3 separate regions of the Homo sapiens genome follow, and regions 1 and 3 are each linked to region 2. The links are contacts of gene promoters, found by promoter capture Hi-C in human tissues and cell types (Jung and others, 2019). All regions are on one chromosome and are shown on one strand. The core of a region is centred on a gene start or on the middle of the fragment in contact, and the rest is flanking DNA. Distances in the headings are between cores, read along the strand shown. Region 1 overlaps FOXJ3 (forkhead box J3). Region 2 holds the start of ZMYND12 (zinc finger MYND-type containing 12). Region 3 overlaps FOXJ3 (forkhead box J3).

Region 1 (3,887 bases), core at 973-3,472, 190 kb after region 2:
TGAGACCAGATATCTGTGTAGAAGAATGGTAGACGTTGAGTTAAATAGTACTTGTACTTGTGAATGGACAAGCATCTTTTTTCTCAGGCCGTTCTTGTGGGGATTGAGTCTGTCTGTCAGTAATGTGGATTTTTTTAAAATTTATGTCTTTATCTTCAGTATACCACAAACTTTACATTCCTCCAGCAGTGGGCTCCTGTTAATTTGTGCTTGGAGAGGGTGCGGTAGGATTTTTTTGTTTTTTCATCTCTTTAGATTTTAGTTGTCTCTGCCCACCTTTTTACACATGGGGATTTCTCGTCCCTTCTCTGTCAGTAGACTGTGTTTGCTTGTTATTCAGTGGTATGCTTTTGGTAGAGGCAAGGAGTTTTCTCTGTTGTGTTGGTCCAGCCTTAGTCTTATGCAGACCCTCGAACTTAGGGTGGGCTGTTTCAGTGTTTCTTCCCTCAGCCAGACTAGTCTTGTGTATCTGTAGTTACTTTTGGGTGAGAGTTTCGCGCCTCTTCTCCAGGTGTAGCAGACCTCTACATGGTATCTGTATAGGATCCTGGGCCCAAGGTAGTTTCCTATACCTCTCCCAGAGTTCAAGGGATTTGCTTCTACTTTTCCTCCAGCAGCAGAACATCTTTGCCTATGTACTGGGTAAGGGTTTCCTATCCCTTCCTAGAGGCACCAGGGTTTTGTTTCCATTCTTCCCCCAGAAGCAGTGAATCTTTGCCAGAGTCCTATGGGTGACAGGTTTTGCTGCCTTTACTGCAAACTTGTTTTTTTGCTTTGTAAAATCTATGGAAGGTTGGTGGGCTTTGTCTCCTCACTGCCTGTCACTGTCAATCACTTTCTTCCTGTTTATGCCACTAGGGGAGACTTTCTTGGGTCTCCTTTCCTACCCCTATTTTTTCTTAGGAACACATGGTAAAGACCTATGGAGAAGAGCTTAAGAGTGTGTGGGAACTTCTCGTGTCTGGGGTTCTTGTTGCTCTAAAGTGACAGCCCCACGCTTGGCCTTTAAAATTTTAGCTAATTTCTTTTTAACTGCTTGGATGGTGGCCATCTCTTTTTCCTGTGCTCTGCCAAAGGTGATTTAGTTGTGTGTCCAGTTTCTCATTGAATAGCCTTGCTCCTCTTAGGAATGTGGTTTGGTTGCCTTGCAACCTGAGCTCTCTGATGTGGCTTAAAAATAGGTTTTTTTTGTTTATTTTTTTTAAAGCTTACCTAGGGTTTTCTCTTTGGGAGAGAGCATCATTCTTTGTAGCTGTTTACATCCCAAGCATAAGTTTTAAATTTCTGCTTTGGTAATAGATGGTCTTGAATTTATATTCTGTAGTCATCTTTTAAAAACGTTTAAAATTCCAATATTGTGCCTGAGGGAGATAAGTTTTATTATAGGCATTCTTGTTAGACTACTGAATTTTATATTAAACAATAAAGCAGATATTATGTCAAAATATGATCCCAGAAGGTACCATTCTAAGTAATGGCTAAATGCAGTTGGACCTCTTCTCTCCCAAATACTAGCCATTTGGGAACAAACCAAGATAATTTGAGAATGGGTTTTGGAGCATTTAATTGAGAAGAAATGGACTTTGGGGCATATTCTGTAAGAATTGGGGTACAGTCCTACCTATTCATGAACAAATTTCTTTTTCACAGACTCTGCAGGTTTCCAAGGGCATTTTCCTGCTACCCACCTTGGGTGTTCTTCCCTGCTACAATGAAGAATTTAGATGTTCTTCCCAGCTCCCTGTAGCCAGTATCTTTCCATGTGGTTTTCTTTTTTACAGATTGTGGTGAGAACCTAATAGGGTTCTATATGTTTTTTTGTAATAGAGCAGTGAATGTTTTTTTAAAGCATTTTTTAAACTAATTAATAAGTGGTAATACATGTGTCTTGCAGACCATTTGGACTTTGCAGAAAAGTAAAGAGAAGAAAATAGTCATCATCTTTAATTTCATGTAGAGTAACTTCTTACATTTTGCATTCTGGCTTATTTCCAAGAATAAATAAATAAAATAAGTACCACAATTAAAGTCATAATATGTATCATAATATGCCAATTTTATATTTGGAATTTAATATTTAACATTACATTACAGGCATCTTCCTGTATCAATAAAAGTCATAAGCACTTAAAATGCTACATATATTACATTTTATGAAATCCTCTAGAAATTATTTTCCAGTAACAGCTTCCCCTCATAGCATTCATAATTTGAAAGTCAGAAAGATTTAAATTTTAAGCTGATTAAAAAGTTTATTCCATTTGTAATTGTTTTGCAAAGCATAAAGATGTTTAGATTTCTAATTCTGTTTTTAAATTTGGGTTATGTTTTTTGGATTTTATTGACCTTATGGCTTTTCTTCTTTAATTCCAGAATTCCATACGACATAATCTGTCATTGAACAAATGTTTCCTTAAAGTGCCTCGATCTAAGGATGACCCTGGAAAGGTAGGATTCATCTTCTTAAAACAGTTGAATTCTTCAGTATGTCACTTGTCATGTTTGAATTAAGAACTTTTCCAGTTCATTGAATAGGAACCTCTGCAAAATAGTAAGTCCTCCCCCACCCTGCTCTAAAGCTTGTTAGAGAGTTTTAAGCTGTGGGAACCTAACTAGTGTATAGCTGTTGCACACCACAGTGCTGTTGTACTTTGCTGTTTCTAATCTAATCTTTGGTTGAAGTATTGTGTATTAAATTAAATTTGGTGATTGAGCTGCTTGTCAGGAACCATAATTCATTATTACATATAAGGGGTGCATCTCTGTGTAACTGGCAAAAAGTGGAAGTATTCTTACACTGGAATAAAACAGTTTCTCTGTTATTAGCCCATTTCTGAGTGTAATCAAGAAGAGTATTCTGTACTTGACTCTTCTTATCTCCTGACACCACTGCATTTTTCACGTTTTTAGCGTTTTTTCTATGGTGACTCCTCCCTTTTTTTGTTGTTTTAATAGCTAGTCAACTATAGTGTGACCTGAACTTGGTCCTAGTTGCTTGGTCTCTGAAACTTAAGAGTACTTGGTTGTACTGTATTTGGTTGTCAAGGTAAGTTACTAGATTAGGACTTTGAGACAGTGTATTTATTGGGAAGCACGATGCTTGTTTAGGTGGCTAGACTTCTTATATTTGTTTTTAGGCTAACTGATTTTGGAAGAATCTTTCTAAAATGTAACCCTGGTCATGTAAGCACCTTGCTTAAAAGTATTCCTTAGTGTCCAGGAGGTGTTTACTTTCTCTTCTTGTAAAATATTCTTTACTGTTTTTTTCTCAATCTGCCTTTCTAGCTATAATTCACCTCATTCAAGACTCATCATGAAGAACTACTTGAAGTTTTCCAAACATGCTATTCATATGGTCTTCTGTACAAATTTCCTTGCTTTACTTGTCTAGACTGCTTCTTATCTTTCAGTATTGAGCTGCAACATGACTTCTCTGAGGCTTTTTTGTTTCCCCATACTTCAGCTGAATTTGTTGCTCCCTCTTTTGAGTTCTTTTTATTTTGTAGCGACCGTCATCATTGTAGTAGCTCCTAATTGGACTCTCAATGGCTGGGCTCGATCCCTCCAGTTTATATTAACTTTCACATAGTAGGCAGCAATCTTCAAAAAAAAAAAAAAAAAAAAAAAAAAAAGTTAACCTACTCATATGGTCTCTTTTTTTCAAGCTCTTTGTTAGTTATCTACTGCCCTTAAAATCTAAATTTATGCAAGTAGGGTTCATGTGTATCTTGTTCACTGTTTAGACCCAGTTGCTTGCACAGTGGCTGATGGCACTGAGGAGACACCCTTGTTGAATGAATGAATATACTGTATCCTCTGTTAGACTGTTAACTTCTTGAAGTTAGAGATGAAGAGTTATTCGTTTCTATCTTTAGGCAGTTTTTCTG
Region 2 (3,773 bases), core at 509-3,008:
GGTTTCACCATGTTGGCCAGGCTGGTCTCGAACTCCTGACCTCAGGCGATCTGCCCTCCTTGGCCTCCCAAAGTGCTGGGATTACAGGCGTGAGCCACCGCGCTCGGTTCTGCTCATCTTTTAAAACCCAGTTCAATTCATCTCCTCCAAGAAGCTTCATCGACTCCCCCAGGATTCACTCGCCCCATGATCTGACTGCACTTTGTACATACCTCCACTAGAGCATTTATCACTCTGTATTGTAATTATGTCTGTGTCCAGCTCCCTCACTAGATTGTGAGGTCCATGAGGGAGGGCGGTGTCTTATTCATCTCTGTATCCCCTGTGCCTAGCGAATACAGATGCAGAAAGGCCATCTCCAGATCAAGAGGAAATTAACCCAAGATTGGTTATATGGGATTAGATCTCTGGAAGAGAAGCGCCCATCACCTGCAGTGGGCCCCCAGATGACTGGATCTTGTGTTCAGGCATTTCAGAGACAGGAACATAGAAATCTGACACAGCCGCAGCCAGGTAAAACATCGCAGAAGGGCCTGCAAAGAGAAACACAAGGTGTTAACAAATCGGCGAGGTACGATATAGGATCAGCTCCTTCTCAACTCGGGTTCCCCAGCTGAGATCCGTGGGTAAGCAGGAGGTAAGGGGATAAGTGGCTGGAAAGAAAGGCTGTGCTTCCAGGCAAAAGGGGTACTCCTAGGGCACGCACCTAGCGGATTGAGTGCCTGGGCCGCAGCCTGCAACAGATGCAAATAGTCCGCCAAAGTGGTGAACTCTACTGCCAGGAAGGTGCCTGCAGCCGCAGCCTCCTGGTAGCTCCTCAGAGCCTCAGCAAAACCCGGAAGTGCATTCTCCTCGGCCTCCAGGCTCAGCAAGCCCGAAAGGGCTGGGCCCGAAGGCCGCAGAGCGGACAGCCAAGTCTGGGGTGGGAAGCGGTGGGCATAGGGGAAGGCAGAGCGAGCGCGATACAAGAACAGGACCCCGTAGCCGGCGGCTAGGAAGGCCTCGGCCGAGGTTGCACCGCGCCGCCCGCTGCTGAAGTTGTCCAGGAAGCGCACCGGCCGCGCTTCCAGTGGGACCTTGGTGCCGCCTGACGTAACCAACACCACCCGCCGGCCCTGCGCGCCCAGCCTGGCCGCGAAGCGAGCCATAACCTCAGCCCAGCGCGCAGCACCGGGAGGCTGGGGGAACTCGGCTACCGGATCCATTTCCGCCATCTGCAGCGCAGCGGCCGGCGCCTGCGCACGTTTCGCGGCCGCCGCGCCACGCCCCTTCTCGCCTACCTGGTGTACGCGCCGCGCCGTACTGAGTGGGCGGTTCACTACCCTTCTTTTGACACTAGGTCCCGATCTCGCCAAGTCTGGAAATGCGTAGTTGTTCTGCCCCAGAGCCCAGCGAAAGTGACACTGCAACGAGGGGGATCCCCGGCTGGGTGGGCATCTGGTAGGGTCACGTTCCCTCACGTTCGTTTCCTAGCCTGGGTGAAGAACTGGCCATGTTTGACCCTTACCGGCCACTGTACGGGCCTTTCTGGACTTGGACTCCTTGGGAGTCGTTTCTCGGCCATTTGACCCGTGGGACTTGTGGGTTTTGTGCTGCTTTTTCTTTCTTTCTTCCCCTTTTCCAACTTCAGCAATACACCCAGATGTTAGTCGAGTCACGTCCCGCCGCCCTCTGCCCTTGAAATGCTGGCAAGTACGCAGCCCCGCGATCGTCACGTGACGCCGGGGTTCAGCGTATCCTTGCTGGGCAACCGTCTTAGAGACCAGCACTGCTGGCTGCACCATGAATGTGATCTACCCACTGGCAGTCCCCAAGGGGCGCAGACTCTGCTGTGAGGTGTGCGAAGCCCCAGCCGAGCGGGTGTGCGCGGCCTGCACAGTCACTTATTACTGGTAGGCCCTGAAACGTGGCACCTGGGCGCTATAACTCCCTCCCTCTCTCCCTTTCCCGGGTCTGGCTTGGGTACCTTGCGTTAGCCGTTGCCCCTGACTCTGCAAGGGACACCTCAAAACGGCTTTAAGACAGGCCCCTAAGACTCCCGTGGCCTCGTCTGTCTCATCTCCCACTTATTCGTCACTCATGTTTTCTGAAGGCGTACTCTGTGTTATGCACTATTTTAGGTGCTAAAGTTACTGGGGCAGCTCGGTAGATCAGTTCCTTCAAAGATCTAACATTCCAATGTGGGAGACAAATCAGTAAAGAAACAGGCCGGGCGCGGTGGCTCACGCCTGTAATCCCAGCACTTCGGGAGGCCGAGGCGGGCGGATCGCCTGAGGTCAGGAGTTCGAGACCAGCCTGGCCAACATGGTGAAACCCTGTCTCTACTAAAAAATACAAAAATTAGGCGGGAGTGGTGCTGGGCGCCTGTAATCCCAGCTACTCGGGAGGCTGAAGCAGAAGAATCGCTTGAACCCGGGAGGCGGAGCTCGCAGTGAGCGGAGATCGCGCCACTGCACTCCAGCTTGGGCAACGAGAGTGAGACGATAGTGAATGGGGCAGTATGTGGAAAGCTTTCCCTGTGGAAGAAACATTTGAGCTGCATTTTGAGAGGGCAGTCAGAACCTGCTGTGTACAGGAGTAGTGAAGAAGGGTAGGGCATTCCCGGCATCCGGGACTGCTAGGGCAAATGGCAAAAGAACAGAGTTTGCTAAGGGCCGAGTGGAGAACGTAGTAGTGGAGGGAGCAGTCAGTGATTTTCAAACTGCAGGCCAGGGCCCTTTAGCAGTTTATGAATAAGTCACAATCACCATTTAGAGAAAACAACAACAACAAAAAAGAGCACAGAATGAGTAGAAAGTATCAGGTTAATCCTACCTGAATTGTTTCTTAAAACTTTTGTCTTAGTGTTTTATGTGGACATGTGTGTGTGTACAGGAAAAATGTATTTCTTACTATAGGTTGAGTCAAAATTAGCCGGATGTGGTGGCGTGCACCTGTAATCCTAGCTACTCGGGAGGCTGAAGCAGGAGAATCGTTTGAACCCGGGAGGCGGAGGTTGCAGTGAGCCGAGATCGCTCCATTGCACTCCAGCTTGGGCAACAAGAGTGAAACTGTGTCTCAAAAAAAAAAAAAAAAGTTGGAACATCATTGTGATAGGTAGTAGAAGTTTAAACCAAGAAGATAAAGGTTAGGGCTAGACAGTGACATGAGATCAAGGGTTTGGAATTTATCTCCTGGGAAACCATGAATGGTTTTGAGCTGACATGCTCTCATTTGTGTTAAGGAAAGAGGATGGGCTGCAGTGTGGCAGATACAGAGGAAGGTAGACACTGACGGCTGCATAACAGATCAAGAAGCTGTTGCAGTACCTTCTCATACTGGCCTAGGTGTCCTTCCTCAGTGCTCTCAAAGCACTGAGTATGTCCCCTATCCTAACACTTAGGACATGGACTGAAATCATTTATTTATTTCTTTCATTAGGCTGTATGCCCCACAAGGGCAGGGATGGTATCTGTGTTTTCATTGCTATCTCCTCTTTGGTGGCTTCCTTGCCTTTAGAATATAATTAAGAATTTGTAACAGAAAATACAAGGCCCTGGTTATTTCTCTACCTTCACTTCCCACCACACTCACCCCATTTTTTCTTTGCTGTAGTTATAGAGAACTGAAGTTCTAATTTGCTAAGCCCTTTCTTCCCTCAGTTTCTTTTCCCAGTCTGTTCTCTCTGCTAGGAACCTCCCCTTCAACTACAAGCCTTCCTGGCTCCCTTTCATCCTTCAGTTCTCAGTTTAAATGTCATTTCTTCAAAGAGGTCTAAACCCAGTCTCAACTCC
Region 3 (3,734 bases), core at 1,173-3,672, 160 kb after region 2:
TGCCTGTCCTATATATATATTTTAAGATGGAGTCTTGCTGTCTTGCTCAGGTTGGAGTGCAGTGGCATGATCTTGGCTCACTGCGACCTCTGCCTCCTGGGTCCAAGCAATTCTCCTGCCTCAGCTTCCCAAGTAGCTGGGATTACTGGTGTGTACCACCACACCTGGCTAACTTTTGTATTTTTTAGTAGAGATGAGGTTTTGCCATGTTGGCCAGGCTGGTCTTGAGCTCCTGACCTCAAGTAATCCGCCCACTTTGGCCTCTAAAGGGCTAGGATTACGGGCATTAGCCACCACACCCAGCCACATATCAATATTAACCTTGAATGTAAATGGCCTAAATGCTCCGCTTAAAACATACAGAGTGGCAAATTAAAAAAAAAAAAAAAAGACCCAACCATCTGCTGCCAGCAAGAGACCCCCCCACACACACTGGTTAAAGACAGTTACAGACTCAAAGAGGTGAAAAAAGATTTATCATGCAAATGGAAAACAAATGCCAGCAGTAGTATCCATTCTCGTATCAGATAAACTTCAAACCAATAACAGTAAAAAAAAAAAAAGATGAGCATTATATAATGATAAAGGGTTTGATACAACAAGAAGATTTAACTATCCTAAATATATATGCACTCCACACCAGAGCACCCAGATTCATAAATACTGCTAGGCCAAAGCAAACAGATTGATAGCAATACAATAATAGTGGAGAACATCAACACCTCACTGACATCACTATTCAGATCACTGAGGCAGAAATTCGAAAAATTCTGGACCTAAACTGTAGACCAGATGGACCTAATAGACATTTATAGAACATACATTAATCTCATCTGCACGTGGAACATTCTCCAAAATTGACCATATGCTTGGCCATTAAAGCAAGTCTCAATACATTCCAAAATACTGAAATCAGATCAAGTATCTTTTTGGAGCACAGTGGAATAAAATTAGAAATCAAATACCAAGAGGGACTCTTAAAACTATTCAAGTAGATGGAAACTAAACAACATGCTCCTGAATGAACTTTGGGTAAACATGCAATTAAGGCGGAAATTGAAAACAATTTTGAAATAAATGAAAATGGAGACACAGCATACTAAAACCTCTGGGATACAGCAAAGACAGTGCTAAGAGGAAAGTTTATAGCGTTAAATGCCCACATTAAAAAGATAGGAAGATCTCAAGCTACCACCATACATCAAGGAACTAGAAAAATAACAAACCACACAAAAAGCTAGCAGAAGAAAAGAGCAAAGATCAGAGCAGACCTAAATGAGATAAAAAAATGATACAAAGGATAAGTGAAACAAAAAGTTGGTTCTTTGAAAGGATACACAAAATTGACAGCCTGCTAGCTAAGTTAACCAAGAAAAAAAAAAGTTTTAAATATAAGCAGAAATGATAAAGACAGCATTACACCTGACACCACAGAAATACAAAAGATCATCAGAGACTGCTGTGAACATTTCTGTGCTCATAAACTAGAAATAGCTGGGGGAAATGCACAAATTCCTGGAAAGATACAACCTCGCAAGATTGAACCAGGAAGAAATGTGAATCCTGAACAGACCAATAACAAGTAACAAAATTCAATCAGTAATAAAGGAAAACTTCTGTATTAGTCTGTTCTCATGCTGATATAAAGAACTACCTGAGACTGGGTAATTTATAAAGGAAAGAGGTTTAGTTGACTCACAGTTCCACAGGGCTGGGGAAGCCTCAGGAAGCTTATAATCATGGCAGAAGGGGAAGCAGACATGTTCTTCACATGGCGGCAGGAAGGAGAAGTGCTGAGCAAAGTGGAGGGAAGCCCCTTGTAAAACCATCAGATCTCGTGAGAACTTACTATCAAGAGAACAGTATGAGGGTAACTGCCCCCATGATTCAATTACCTGCCACTGAACCCTCCCATGACACATGGGAGTTAGGGGAACTACGAGGTGAGATTTGGGTAGGGACACAGCCAAACCTTATTACCTTCTAACAATAAAAAAGGCCAGGACCAGATAGATTTGTAGCTGAATTTTGCCAGACATATAAAGAAAAGCTGGTATTTAGGAAAGAATACTGAAACTATTTCAGAAAATTGAGGAGGAGTAATTCCTTTCTAACTCATTCTACAAAACCAGTATCAAAGTCAGGTGAGGACACCAGTATCAAAGTCAGGTGAGGACACCAGATACCAAAGTCAGGCAAGGACACAACCAGAAAAGAAAACCACAGGCCAATATCCCTAATGAACATAGGTGCAAAAATCCTCAACAAATGCTGAATCCGACAGCACATCAAAAAGATAATAAATCATGATCAAGTGGGTTTTATTCCAGGGATGCAAGAATGTTTAAGCATATGCAAATCAATAAACATGATTCACCACATAAATAGAACCAAACCCCAAAACTGTATGATTATCTCCATAGATGCAGAAAAGTGATTTGATAAAATCCAACATCGCTTCATAACAACCCTCAATAAACTAGGCACTGGAGGTATGTACCTTAAAATAATAGCTATATATGACAAACCTACAGACAACATCATGTTGAAAGGGAGAAGTTGAAAACATTCTCCTTAAGAACAGGAACAAGACAAGGATGTCCACTCTCACCACTCTTGTTCAACATAGTACTGGAAATCCTAGCCAGAGCAATTAGGCAAGAGAAAGAAATAAAAGGCATCCAAATTGGAAAAGAGGAAGTTTCCTGATAACATGACTGTATACTTAGAAAAGTCTAAAGACTCCTAGACTTCGTTGAAGTTTCAGGATACAAAATCAATGTACAATGATCAGTAGCATTTCTATAAATAACTTTGAAGCTGATAACCAAATCAAGAACCCAATCCCATTTACAGTAGACACACACACACACCCACACCCGCACACCCCTAGGAATACATTTAACCAAGGAGGTGAAAGATCTTTACGAGGAGAACTATATAACACCAATGGAAGAAATTGCAGATGACACAAACAAATGGCAAAACATTTTGTGCTGTTGGATTGGAAGAATCAATATCACAAAAATGACCATACTATTCAAAGCAATCTACAGATTCAATGAAATTCCTTTCAAATTACTAACATCAGTTTTCACAGAATTAGAAAAACAGCACTGGAGTGCATATGGAATCAAAAAAGCACTCAGCCAGAGCGATCCTAAGCAAAAGGAACAAATTCAGAGGCATCAGATTGCCTGACTTCAAATTATACTACAAGGCTATAGTAACTAAAGCAGCATGATAGTGGTACAAAAATATGCATAGAGATCAGTGGAACAGAATAGAGAGCCTAGAAATAAAGCCACATACCTACAACCAACTGATCTTTGACAAAGTTGATGAAAATAAACAGTGGAGAAAGGACATTAACACTCTATTCAATAGATGGTGCTGGGATATTGGCTAGCCATATGCAAAAGAAGGAAACTGGACCCTTGTGTCTCACCATGTATGAAAATTAACTCAGGACGGATGGATTAAAGACTTGAACATAAGACCTTAAACTATAAAAGTCCTAGAAGAAAACTTAGGAAGAACTCTTGGATGTTGGCCTAGGCGAAGAATTTATGAGGAAGACAAAAATAGACAAATGAGACTTAATTAAACTAAAGCTTCACAGCAAAAGAAATACTCAACAGATTAAACAGCCTATAGAATGGGAGAAAATGTTTGCAAATGATTACTTTCAGAAAGGATGAACATCAGAATCTACACGGAACTCTAATAACGGG

The links. The method cuts DNA at HindIII sites, captures the fragments that hold promoters and counts their contacts. A contact is called where the count stands out against the background at its distance.
Region 1: a fragment that was not itself captured here is called in contact with the fragment with the promoter of ZMYND12 in region 2 in 1 of the 25 tissues and cell types used here (dorsolateral prefrontal cortex).
Region 3: a fragment that was not itself captured here is called in contact with the fragment with the promoter of ZMYND12 in region 2 in 1 of the 25 tissues and cell types used here (bladder).

What each region holds. Positions count from the first base shown.
Region 1 is chr1:42,263,676-42,267,562 of GRCh38, reverse strand. It overlaps FOXJ3 (forkhead box J3), which reads left to right. Exons shown (of 13, transcript NM_014947.5): 4 at 2,374-2,448. Among named protein-coding and RNA genes, the nearest start is that of FOXJ3, 70 kb to the left of the region's middle. The HindIII fragment of the contact is 5,095 bases long and covers 1-3,887 here.
Region 2 is chr1:42,454,007-42,457,779 of GRCh38, reverse strand. It overlaps ZMYND12 (zinc finger MYND-type containing 12), which reads left to right and starts at 1,758. Exons shown (of 8, transcript NM_032257.5): 1 at 1,758-1,892. The coding sequence starts at 1,783. PPCS (phosphopantothenoylcysteine synthetase) reads right to left here and starts at 1,237. Exons shown (of 3, transcript NM_024664.4): 1 at 707-1,237; 2 at 430-533. The coding sequence starts at 1,214. It also overlaps a transcript of CCDC30 not described here. RefSeq lists enhancers at 887-1,006, 1,097-1,166, 1,407-1,636. The HindIII fragment of the contact is 5,227 bases long and covers 1-3,773 here.
Region 3 is chr1:42,296,197-42,299,930 of GRCh38, reverse strand. The region is part of intron 2 of FOXJ3 (forkhead box J3); the gene reads left to right. Among named protein-coding and RNA genes, the nearest start is that of FOXJ3, 37 kb to the left of the region's middle. The HindIII fragment of the contact is 3,640 bases long and covers 603-3,734 here.